Regions from separate parts of the Homo sapiens genome. Here region 2 is linked to region 1. Evidence: promoter capture Hi-C in 16 types of primary human blood cells and fetal thymus (Javierre and others, 2016). All regions are on one chromosome and are shown on one strand. The core of a region is centred on a gene start or on the middle of the fragment in contact, and the rest is flanking DNA. Distances in the headings are between cores, read along the strand shown. Region 1 holds the start of CD200R1L-AS1 (CD200R1L antisense RNA 1). Region 2 overlaps NEPRO-AS1 (NEPRO antisense RNA 1).

Region 1 (6,608 bases), core at 2,988-5,487:
ACAATGACACACCTTGAGTTCAGGACCATGGTTATCTGTAGAAGGGAGAAAGGAGATGAAATCAGGGAGGGGCACATAGAGGGCTTTAATTGGGTTTGTCAAGTTTTGTTTCTTAAGCTGAGAAGTTGATGAGGTATTTCTCTTTTACTGTTTACATCTTTTTTTAAAAACAACTCTATGGGAAAAAATCTAATTTGATAAAAAAAAATGGGCAAAAGATTTAAATAGGTATTTCTCAAAAGAAGACAAACAAATGGCAAACAGGCATATGAAAATGTGCTCAACAGGCCAGGTGCGGTGGCTCACACCTGTAATCCCAGCACTTTGGAAGGCCTAGGCAAGTGGATCATTTGAGGTCAGGAGTTTGAGACCAGTCTGGCCAACAGGGTAAAACCCTGTCTCTACTAAAATTACAAAATTAGCCAGGTGTGGTGGTGCATGCCTGTAGTCCCAGCTACTCAGGAAGCTGAGGCAGGAGAATCACTTGAGGCGGGGAAGCAGAGGTTGCAGTGAGCTTAGATCCTGCCACTGCACTCCAGCCTGGGCAACAGAGCAAGACTCTGGCTCAAAAAAAAAGAAAAAGAAAAACGAGGAAAAAAGTGCTCAACATTATTGATCATCAGATAAAAGAAAATCAGAACTAAAGCTATAATGAAATACCATCTTATGCAATTAAAATGGCTTATATCCAAAAGAGAAGCAATTACATTTTATAAATTTTTAAAGGTACCCACAGAGACCAACACCCTCTCTCCAAGTTGGCAAAGTGAAGGGCTGCTTGTCAGCTTCTGAATGCATCTCTTCCTTTTGACCATGGCTGTGACTGAGCTCCCAAGAACTTCCTTTTCAGATAGAAGAATGAAGACAATTCTGAAGCCCATTTGGGAAGAATGAGAAACTCTCCCAAATTTTTACCCTGAGCTCCTTTTTCAACAATACTCAGGAACCCACTAGTGTGGATTCCATGCTCTGCCCTCAGTGTGGGAGCTGGTGTGAAAAGGAGACCTAACTTTTAAAGGCAGAGATAGATTTGGGTTTGAATTCTAGCCTTGCCACTTTCTAGCTTCGGCTTCTTCATCTATAATATGGAACTAATAAGACAAACCTACTTCACTGGGTTTTTATGAGGATGGAATTAGTTACTTCCTATAAAATGCCTGGTATACGTAAACACCCATAAACAATGTTTTCATCATTCATACAAGTTAGCAGTCTAGGAAAGTAGTCTGTTATTATTCTCTTTCTTGCTCTTTTTTTCTCTAAGATGTCTGCCATTTTCAAATTTGCCCTGTAACTATATTCTTTCAAATTCCCTTTCCTGAGGTTTATGGTGACATGCATCCTAATTCACTGTTAGACAGTCAATTTGCTAGTTATTTTTAAATGTAGAAAAAAAGAAAAATATTAAAATGTTCTACTTATTCATGGTTCTTACTCCCTTAAAAGCACTAGTGGAGGTCATTAAGACCATTACCTCAGAGTGCTCAGACATTACTAAAACAAATTACTCTGGGTCAGTATAAGGAGAGCCTTAACACTCATTCCAGTAGAGGAGGTTAGGAGGCCCCCTGAGAAGAAGCGAAAGAATGGATCTCTTGTTGGCTCACACATGACATTATTTAGAAATGGTTTGTTTTTCTAATATGACCAGATGGCTCCCAGCCACATATAAAAACACTCCAAGCTACACTGATTCGCTTGACAAGTGTCCTACAAAATGCAGTTAACCTAGACTGAAGGGCATGTGTCTATTTGGGGGTAAACCTTATTCAAGGTTTGTATTGTCTGCTGATGAGAGCTCTTCCTTGAGAATATTAAAATACCAATGTTAGAAGGAAAAGCACTTAGTTGAGCCAGAAGTTGTAGGTTTGCATATTTACTCCACTACTTCCTGGTGAGGTGGCATGAGTAAACTGTTTAGTTTCTAGGCCTCCCTTTCTTCATTTGTGAAGCAGGGATTATAATACTGTAACTCACAGAGTTCTGATAAGATTTAAGGGAATATTATGAATGACTCTGGAATGGAGCCAGATGCCTAGGAAGCACTCAAAGATATTAGGTAAAATATCAGCTGACAGTAGATCAACTTGGACATGTGTCTTCAAATTTTATATCCAAATTTCAAGATGGTAGGGGACATAATGGAAGAGAAAAAAGTTTTAGATTTTCAGCCAAGGAAAAAACGAAATTGAACTTGCTACTGGCTGGGTGGCTCTGAACAAATTTCTCACCTTTTCTGAGTCTTATTTATTTATTTTTTTTGTAGGTACATAGTAGCTGTATATATTTATGAGATACATGAGATGTTTTGATAGAATTCTTGCAATGTGACATAATGAGTCTTATTTTCCTAATGTACAAAATGGGGCATCATAGTATCTTCTCTCTCTACTTTCTAGGATTGTTGAAGGCTAACAAATTTCATCTTTGTGTATCCCCAACCTTCACATTCTGCATGCTTTCTGTCTCTAAAAGTAATTACCATTGTTAAGCATGTATTTGTGTTTTCTCAAATTACTAACTTCTGATGGAATAGATAGTCTTTTAAAAATTCAGTGGAAGAATTCTAGCTGGGCTTTGGAATTCTAGTCTTCTCTAAGAGAGCACTTTATATGTAAAGGCAAACAGCAACTCCACAACAGTACACTAGTAACAGTAATGATTAGGATAATTATTTCTCTGGAGAAACACCACTGTCTTCTGTGACTTTATGCTTGCAAGTTCAATCAGATGAAACAATTCCATAATAGTTTAAATCCCAGAACTACCTTTACTCAGAATCTGAGTAACAGTTTCTGAATACTCTAGAAATCAAATGTTATAGCCACTTGGCTGCATTGTTGGGTAAATCAAAAGATAAGGCCTGTAATAGCCTGAGTTCTTGAAGGGTTCACACTCAGTGAGTTGCGTGGTATTCTAGCACATGGGGTATGCATGGAAATTTACATAATGTGGCTTGGAGGAAAATAATTCTTGTTAGATTTTAGTTTGGCTGAATGGGAAATAGCCAACTTTATTGTCTTATCTCCCTTTAAAAAACAAACAAAAAAAATTTCTTTAATGTTTATGTTATACATGAATACAATCTCACTAAAAAAATAAGTTCTATGGATAAAGTTTATGTCTCCTTAATCACTACTCCCCTTCTTAAAGGTGACTACTATTACCAGTTCACTGTGCATCCTTCCAGAACTCTTTTCTCTGAATTTCTTAGCACATATGTGTGCTATAGAGCTATATAGTTTCACAAGTGTGTATTTGTACATAAATAATACAAATTATTCTATGACTAGCTTTTTACTCTACAGTGTGTATTAAGGGGGAATTCCATGCCAGTTTGCAGATAGCCACCTCATTCTTTGTAACTGTTGTATACCACTCTGTAGCATGAATGTGCTACTTTTTTTTTTTTTTTTTTTTAAGACAAGGTCTCCCTCTGTCACCCAGGCTGGAGTGCAGTGGCGCGACCTAGGCTCACTGCAACCTCCGCCTCCTGAGTTCAAGCAGTTCTTCTGCTTTAGCCTCCCCAGTAGCTAGGATTATAGACACCATGCCACCACAGCCTGGCTAATTTTTGTATTTTTAGTAGAGATGGGTTTCATCATGTTGGTCAGGCTGGAATGTGCTACCTTTTGTTTAACCACCTTCCTACTGAGTTACAAGTGAGTCATTTCAAATATTTTGCTCTTATAGATACTGTTGCAATGAATATATTTGTTCATACCTTCTTAGGTACATGTGTAGATATGAAAAAAGTAATTACTGATCTTAGGATATACACATTAAAAGCTATAACCCTAACAAATTACCTTTCCACATGCCTGTCCCAGTTTATTCCCTCATCAGCAGTGCATCATGGAACCCATTTCCCTGTACTTTCACCAAGATTTGATAGCAAATATTTCATTTTTGCTTAATGAGAACAAAATGTTATCTTATTGTGGCTTTTATTTGTATTTATTAGATTAGTAGAAATATATATTACCTTTTCATGAGTGTATTGCTTATGTGTATTTTTCTTCAATAAACTACCTGTCAATATATACATAAGTCTTCTCTAGACTTTATTCTTTGAATCTATTTGCATTTTCCTGCATAGATGCCACATTTGCTTAATTACTCTAGCTTTTTAATATGCTTTAATATCTTGGGAAGGGGACTTTTTTCCATCTGTATAGACCATTTTACTTGCAAATTACTTACACAAGGAAATATCTAATCTCACATTACACTTGTCACCAAATGATAGACACTAATCTCCATTTCTTAGAAATGAGGAAATAAAACCACAAAATGTACAAAGTCAGATCTAAAACCCCTACCTTTGGGTCCAGACTTTTCTTCTAAAGTTCTGCAGTTATACCCAGATGCCACAGAAACATAGGATCTTAGAGGAGAAGTAACTTAGGTAAGATTATCTAATCTAAACTCCTCCTTTTACAGATGAGTAAATTAAGGTGTGGGAAAGCTAAGTACCTAAAACCTAGCATTAGAACACAGATCTTCTGGTTTTTGGTCAGTTAGGTTTCTATAATGGCAGTATTTCATTAACAAATTCTAGTGGGTTTTTTTCCCTATCACTGTCCTGAAAGAGGAAAAAAATTTAGAACCATTGTCAGACCTTTAGTTTTTTTCAGTTTTTTAATTATGAAATAAAGGGAAATAAATTGTTAAAGTTGAGACTGGGCACATACGAGTTCAAACTCAAGAGTCTTTTATATGTTTATACCAACTCTGTGGGAGAGACAGGGGGAATAAAAGCATTCTCAGTTACAATAATGAATATATTCTGTTTATCCACTGCCCACCTCCTGGATGTCTCAAGCATTTCATGGATGGTGCTGCATCTGTAAGCGAGGATGGACAAATGTGTCCAGAACAAGCAGTTGTAACTATTGTGAGGCCCCATCTGGAACAGAAGGTGATTCAATCTCTTCCTTTGATTGGAATCTTTCATACTTTATTTTTCAGCATTCTGAGCTAGGAAACATGTGAATACTGAATTTCAACAGCTATCTCATTTCACCTGATAGTACTTTTCTTTGCCTAGGCAAAGGAACAGAACAGTTTAACCTGCATCACAAACTTCAAAAGAGTTGTAGCTACTCCTGGAAAGAGAGAGATAGGAGGCTGCCCATGCTTCAACATCCTCTGGATTTTGAGCCAGAATGAAAACAAGAAGAAAACAACACTTGAAGTTCTGACTTAGTCTGGGCCCACAGTCTCAGATCCTTTGAGTTACACAGCAGGAAGGAAAGAGTCCCCTATGGGGTCATGAACCACATCGTCTGATTGAATAATTGGTGCTTATTTCTGGGTCCTCAACTTGGCCATCTAACAGCTTGCATGTGCTCCATTTATAGTCCTCAGGCAAATTCTTTAAGCTTTTGGGTTGCATTTTTCATTTCCATTGGTTATAAATAATAGGTCAGGACAGATGTCTTTAATAGCCTAAGATCTAAAACATATGTTTGTGCAATGAGACCACAGAGGTAGAACTATAGAACCTGAAGCCAATTTTATTTTTAGAAGAGACTTTAGTTGTCTGTTCAACATATTTATTTTAAACGTAATTTTTGTTCATCCAATATGTCATGCTGTTAAGAAACATACCAGATAAGAAGGCCAACCTCCTGCCCTCCAGGAGTACATAATATCATTCCTCAATGCTCGTTCTTCATGCTCAAAGAGTACCAGATTGAAGAACTGGAGGTCCCAAAAAAGGTAATAGGAGTAAGGTGAAGTTGAAGGGGAGCACACTTTCCCTTCAGTCAGTCTCAAGCCAGTGAAAAATCCCTACCAATTTTCTTCAGGCCCTTCAGCAGGAATGTAGAATAGCTGTATGGACCTCTCAACTATACATGATAGCTTTGGTCTAATTTATAAAAATGTTCCTTTGTTCCCTCTGAGACTGCAGTTCTCCTATCTGCACACACACTTTCCTGACTCTGCAGCAGAAACTTAGTTACGAGACCCATTTCTTAGGTCACCCTGTCTTCCTCTTTGGGTGAAGAAGTTTCCTTCTTCTCAGATATTCCTCCAGTGAATTTTATGTCATTCTTCACTAATTTTGCAGACACTTTCCTGCTCCTTCTGGAGATTTCTGGTCCTAGAACAACTCCACTACTATGTCTCCTTCCTCTTCTTCTTCTTCTTCTTCTTCTTCTTCTTTCTTCTTTCTTCTTCTTCTTCTTCTTCTTCTTCTTCTCCTTCTCCTTCTCCTTCTCCTTCTCCTTCTCCTTCTCCTTCTCCTTCTTCTTCTTCTTCTTCTTCTTTTCTTCCTCTTGTTCTTTCTTCCCCTTTTCTACTTTCTACAAAAATAAGATGTAAGAGATAATGATGTTGTGGAACAATCTGAGTTAGGATCTTGTCTCCACCACTTAATATTGGAGTTTCAATGTTCTTGACTGTAAAATAGATTAAACGTTAACACCTACCTGCCTCAGCAGATTGATAAAATGATTAAGGTATGTGAAGCAGATGCCTCTATAAGTATTGGCTCCAGTCTCCTTTTTAAATCCCAAATTGCTTTTTATGCTATATACCATCCAACTCCGGTCTGTGGTCATCTTTCTTACTTTTAAAAAAAGTGTTCTTGGCTTTAATCC
Region 2 (6,608 bases), core at 2,785-5,284, 240 kb after region 1:
AACAGATAACATAGAGGTAGGACACACCTGCCTCTTACAAGCATTGGCCCAGGAATACACTCATTATATTCACTCACATTCCTTTGGCTACACCTAACTGCAAGGGAGGCCAGGAAACATAGTCTAGTTGCATATCCAGGAAGAAGGAAATAGGTCAGGCATGGTGGCTTATGCCTGTAATCCCAGCACTTTGGGAGGCTAAGGTGGGCGGATCACTTGGGCCAGGAATTCAAGACCAGCCTGGCCAGCATGGTGAAACCCTATCTCTACTAAAAATACGAACATTAGCCGAGCATGGCGGTGCATGCCTGTAATCCTAGCTATTTGGGAGGCTGAGGCACGAGAATCACTTGAGCCCAGGAGGCAGAGGTTGCAGTGAGCCAAGAGCACCATTGCACTCCAGCCTGGGTGACAGAGCGAGACTGTGTCTCAAAAAAAAAAAAAAAAAAAAAGATAAAGAAAAAAGGAAGAAAGAAGAAAAAATAGTGAACAACTAGAAGACTTTGCTACAATCATTTTTTAAAAAACAAATGTTTAATGGCCCAGAGAAGTGCTCGTTGCATGTCTGACTGGCTGGGGCTGGCGTTGCAGGTGGTAAAGGAATTTACCAAGACAGTTATAGGTAAAGAAAGGCAGATTTATTACAGAAAGTATGAAGATACATCGCAAGGGTGCAATGGGCAGCACAGCAGAGAAGGGGCTGTCTGCAAAGAGGCAGGGGCTGGAGGAAAGTTTTATAGGGTTGTGCTGGAAGGGATATGTGTAAAACGAGGTCATACTGCTGGGGCTACGTGCAGAGTGAGGTAGTTGTACCAGCAGTTGTTTGTGGTTAGCTGTCTCAGAACAATTGTTCTCCCCGACATGGGACCCCTTCTCCATTGTTGCTTACTCATCTTAACAGGACTCCACAGTGCTCACATTTTATTAAATGAATAAAGAAGATAATAAAACTGGTTATATATGATGACTCCAAGTTGGGAAAGGGGCAAATAGGGATGTGTACCCAGAGTAAAAAATGATGCTAAGATATTAATAATAGTTATTTCCAGTTAGTAGGAATACAGAAGAGTTTTATTTTCTATTCTTTTAATTTTCTGAATTGTTCAGTGAACATAAATTACCTCTATAAGATGACATTATTTTTTAAATGTTAAAATATCTCAGTGATAAACACAAAGTGGTCATTTAGCAAGGATCATTGTTGACAATCCATCTCCTATCTCAACTCCTAGAACCTCATAGAAACATAGAGAAGAAACACCTGTTGATAGCAATCTATTTTCTGAGGTATTCAGAGGCCAGCATGCAATTTAACACAATCCCTAATTTACAAAAGCTATTTCTAAGTCCATTGTTTGAAGCTGAATGCATTCTCTGACAAAATTAATGTAAAGGATGATGTTAAAGATCCAGGGCCAGCCCACCAAAGCCACTCTACTGCAACCAGACACGATATTCCTACCAGTCATTCCATAGAGACCAACTCTGGATCCCAGAATTGCTACAGAAAAGTGCTTTCCATGGTCAAGGGCAAGATAGCAGGAGCATATCTTTCCTCATCTTGTGTTACCCTCCACCCCAACAAGCCTTGGCAGCCAAAGTGGGAGCTTTTTTTTTCCCCCACTCTAGTGCATGACTTTGAAAGATTGTAATATAGTCCATGGAAAACATTCGGCAGTCTGAAAGACTTCCCTGGGCCCACCTGTCCTCTCATGGTCAACTGGAGAACGGTCCAGAAATCCTTGAGCTCTGGAAAGCTTCCTGGTTAGTCCTTGGGGAATGCAGGTAGCTATATTGGAAGAACCTGCTCAAGTACAGTTCTTGACATCTGGGGAATCCATTAGGGGAAGATCACTTCAAACTCAATAATGAAGTCCCCACATTTCTTGGGCACTTTAGGGAGAGGGAAGTCTTCTCCAGGGGCTTTTCACTGCATGCCAGGCCTGATGACTTCCTTGAAAACGATGGGTATGGTCTTTCCGTCCAGAGTGGGATGTTCACTGTGCAGCCACACAGAGCCTTCCAAATGCTGATCCTGGCAGGATAGATGACATCAGAGCCATTTCTCTTAAAAATACTATGTGGCTTGTCCTTTAAAACAAAGACGATGTCAGCTGGAATGTTTTTAGAGGTTTGGTCTCCTTCCTTGCTTGGGGAAGGTCATTTTGGTCCCTCTTTCCACCGTGTTTTCACTTCAATGGTCCAGATCTTGTCTTGACTAGAACCAGTTTCCTCACCATGTGGAAAGTGGGAGCCGGGACTTCCTCAGCAATGAGCCTTGCCATGGTGGGGGCACGGAGGTGGAAGGGAGCTGCTTCCAGGCCTGGGGTAGGGGCTCCCACCAGGCATGGTCCTGAAGGAGACAGGTGATGGGATGTTACATTAGGATGACTAGGAAGATGCCAGGGACCCCTAGGATGGGGAAGAAATGTTTTCCTCATGTACTTTTCCCCTTGTGGAAGCAGCCATCTTAGAGACTTTGGTTCCTCTCCATCCCAAGTCCTCCATCATCCCACTTCCTTTAGTGTCCTCATCTCCAGTAACCTTCATATCGACCTCACTGCAGGCATGCACTCTCCAGCCATATCCCAAATCTTAGCATCAATCAGAGTTGTTCCTTCTCTGAAATCATGAATTCAGACATTTCCATTTCTGACAATAGTTTCCTATTTTCCAACTTTCTTACTCAAGTTACACCCTATAAATCTGATCTTAAACTGCACTGAATCACCAGTCCCCAGCACCCTTTTCTCTCTCATCAGTACCCCCACCTTCATCTTTATTTGTCCCCAGTCCATTTCTTGCCAGCATTCTCAATTCCCTCGCCCCATTGTACTTCCATGAGATTTGCCAGGCAAATGCCCAACTCTATAATAATTCTACTCTCTGAATGTTCTGGGATTCCAGAAAAAGCAGAACCCTTAGATAAGAACTCTCTCAACTTTCTGACACCAACCCTACAAACTTACTTGTCTCCCACTCATCCTGTCTTCCATTCTTTCACTTACAACAGATAAGGTGACCCTCCCCTCACCCAAGTTAAATCCTCCCATTTGCATCCTGTGTCCCAAATCCTTCTGCCTTCTCATAAGCTTCAAGCAATTAATAAGTCCCCTACTTTCTTACATCAACAATAAATTCTTTCTATTGGGTCTTTCCTATGAGTACTTAAACATTAACAGGTCTCTTCCATCTTGGAAAAAACAAACTCTTTCCACTCAAGGTTTCTCCACTTGTCCTATCTCCCTTTCCTTCCTTTCCTCCTTCCTTTCTCCTTTCAGAAAAGTAGAGAGAGATGATGAATTCCACAGCCAAACTCCTTGAAAGCCTAACTCCTACTTCACCAAATACTCACCCTTCTACCAATTGCAATTTAGTTTCTAAATACTAATATTACAAGATCAGTCAGCATACCAGCAAAAAGCAGAATTCATCCCACATGGTTCAAGGGAAGAAGCTGCTTACAGAGATATAGGCAGGATGAAGGCATCAAAAATGGAATCGTGAGGCACTCCAAGCGCAGTGACAGTAGGAAGCCATTATCATTCCTAGGGCCAAAGAGACAAGAGGAGGAAATAGAACAGTAAGAGTGAGAACCGGGGAGAAGAGGACACCTGGTAGGAATTGATGTCAAGGAGTGGTGGACTTACTGCCTAAGATAAGACACTAAAGCTGTATGGAACTGGGGAAAAATATTCTGCTCTCTCTGTTTCATTCATCCCATCTGTCATTGCTTTCCATTGGCCAAACCCAGCTGAAAGCTAGAGGGCAAGGGAGCCTAAGTGATAAAGTCTACAGAGCTCAGCCTTCAGGGACACAGGGAAGAGGGGAGAATGGTGGATACACAGAATAACCAGAACATTCACCCACAACCTCCTTTTTATAAAAGTCAGTGTTTTGCTTGGTATTGTTGACCACTGCCTCCTTGAAATAATCTTTTCCTGTGGCATGTGTGGCAGCATATTTGGCCACTTTTCCCTCTACAGGATGCTCCTGCTCAGTTTCTTTTGCTGGTTCCTCTTCCTCTGTCCTTTCCTTTGTATTGGTGTTTTTTTGTTTTGGTTTTTTTTGTTTGTTTGTTTGTTTGTTTTACAAACTCCCAAAGCTCCATCTATAAGTTGAAAATTCACAAAGGTATACCTCTATTTCAGATTTCTTTCCTGAACTTTAGACTTCAGGGTATGTAACTAGAGCACATCTCTGTATATCTGATGATCTTGAAGCACCTCATATTCAATGTGTCTTCAGTTGAACTCACCTCCCACTCTCCTCCCTGAAAACTCACACCTCTTCGTGTATCTCACTGAATAACATTACTACCCACTCAGTTATCTAATCAATCACCCAAGCCATTCTTTTCACTGCTGATAGAATGATTTTCCAAAAATGAAAAATATGATGATTTTACTCCTTTGCTTTCACTGGCTTATTAATTCCATGATAAATCTGAACTACTTAACGTGGCTTACAAAGGTTGTGTCAAATACTTCTAGGTGTTCAGCAAGATCCATGTTCTCCTCTTATTCCTGGGTGCACAGCTGAGCTACTTTTTCTAGCCTTTCTTGAACCACATTTGGCCAAATGACTGAGTTCTAGCCAATGGATGCCATTTCCAGACCAGTGCGTTTTAAAAAACATCTGTCCCTCTTTCACACTCTCTATTTCCCCTTCAGCTGTGAGGATGAAGCCCTAGGGGATGGCAAAATCACAAGAAGGAATTATGGCCTGGAGAAAAGCCATTGCACACCAGGAACACCTGCTGGGACCATTAGGTGAACTAGGAATATATTTATTTCAAAAACTGAGTGTAAAGAGGTTAAGTAGCCCAAGGTCACATGGCAAGTATTCAACAGAGCCCAGATTTCAATCCAGATTGCCTTATACCAAAGGCTAGGTTGATATTTGTGGTGTACTGCTCTTCTTATTATACATTAAGGGTTGTATTCTATGGCTTAATTGGCTGTCTACAGCCAGTAAAAGCTTTTTAAGAAAAAGGACCATGTATGCTTGCTAATTATTGACTTTTAGTACCCAGCAGTATATCTGGCATATAATAGGTACACAATAAATATTCATCAAGCCAGGTGTGGTGGCTCACACCTGTAATCCCAGCACTTTGGGAGGCTGAGGTGGGCAGATCACCTGAGGTCAGGAGTTCAAGACCAGCCTGGCCAACATGGTGAAACCCCCGTCTCTACTAAAAATACAAAAATCAGCTGGGCATGGTGTCACGTGCCTGTAATCCCAGCTACTCGGAGGCTGAGGCAAGATAATTGCTTGAACCCAGGAGGCAGAAGTTGCAGTAAGCTGAGATCACAACACTGCACTCCAGCCTGGGCAACAGAGTGAGACTCCGTCTCAAAAAAAAAAAAGAAATTCATCAAAAGCTGTGATCTGAATATTATATCCTCCAAAATCCTTACGTTGAAATCCTAACCTCCAAGGTGATGATATTAGGAGGTGGGCCTTTGGGGAGGTAACTAGGTCACAAAGGTAAGAGCCCTCATGAATGGAATTGGTGCCGTTGTAAGATAGACCCAAGGTAGCTCATTAGCCCCTTTCACCTTTTGGGGACACAGTGAGAAGGCACCAACTATGAAGCAGGAAATGAACCCTGGCACCAACTATGAAGCAGGAAATGAACCCTCCCCAGATACCAAATCTGTGGGCAGCTTGATCTTGGACTTCCCAGCCTCCAGAACTGTACGAAATAAATATTTGTTGCTTATGAGCCACCCAGTTTATGGTATTTTTGTTGTAGCAGCCCGAATGGAGTATGACATGAAATGAGTAGCATTGGTGACTTAAGGAGAATATAGTGACAGGGAGAGCCAATAAAACAGTTATTCCTCCTCTCTTGTTTTACTGTTTTTGGCTTGGTGAGAGAAGAGTATTTTGAGGAAAAAGGCAGAAATCTCATGTGTAAAGGGCAGAGGTAAATCAAGAATTGACAGTATCTGAAATGTTATGAACTCTCACATTTCAAAAGACGCCTGAAAGACAGAAAGTCATTTACATGGCATTTAGGAGCTGTCTATAGCTTCTTTTTTTTTTTTTTTTAATTGATCATTCTTGGGTGTTTCTCGCAGAGGGGGATTTGGCAGGGTCACAGGACAATAGTGGAGGGAATGTCAGCAGATAAACAAGTGAACAAAGGTCTCTGGTTTTCCTAGGCAGAGGACCCTGCGGCCTTTCGCAGTGTTTGTGTCCCTGGGTACTTGAGATTAGGGAGTGGCGATGACTCTTAACGAGCATGCTGCCTTCAAGTATCTGTTTAACAAAGCACATCTTGCACCACCCTTAATCCATTCAACCCTGAGTGGACACAGCACATGTTTCAGAGAGCACAGGGTTGGGGGTAAGGTCACAGATCAACAGGATCCCAAGGCAGAAGAATTTTTCTTAGTACAGAACAAAATGAAAAGTCTCCCATGTCTACCTCTTTCTACATAGACTCGGCAACCATCCGATTTCTCAATCTTTTCCCCACCTTTCCCCCTTTTCTATTCCACAAAACCGCCATTGTCATCATGGCCCGTTCTCAATGAGCTGTTGGGTACACCTCCCAGACGGGGTGGCGGCCGGGCAGAGGGGCTCCTCACTTCCCA

The links. The method cuts DNA at HindIII sites, captures the fragments that hold promoters and counts their contacts. A CHiCAGO score of 5 or more calls a contact.
Region 2: a fragment that was not itself captured here is called in contact with the fragment with the promoter of CD200R1L-AS1 in region 1 in 1 of 17 cell types (total CD8 T cells); the score reaches 5.3 in total CD8 T cells.

The regions. Positions count from the first base shown.
Region 1 is chr3:112,798,241-112,804,848 of GRCh38, forward strand. It overlaps CD200R1L-AS1 (CD200R1L antisense RNA 1), which reads left to right and starts at 4,238. Exons shown (of 3, transcript NR_149027.1): 1 at 4,238-4,408. The HindIII fragment of the contact is 7,448 bases long and covers 1-5,382 here.
Region 2 is chr3:113,039,601-113,046,208 of GRCh38, forward strand. All of the region lies in intron 1 of NEPRO-AS1 (NEPRO antisense RNA 1), which reads left to right. It also overlaps the pseudogene DNAJB1P2. Among named protein-coding and RNA genes, the nearest start is that of RMP64, 23 kb to the left of the region's middle. The HindIII fragment of the contact is 1,888 bases long and covers 3,091-4,978 here.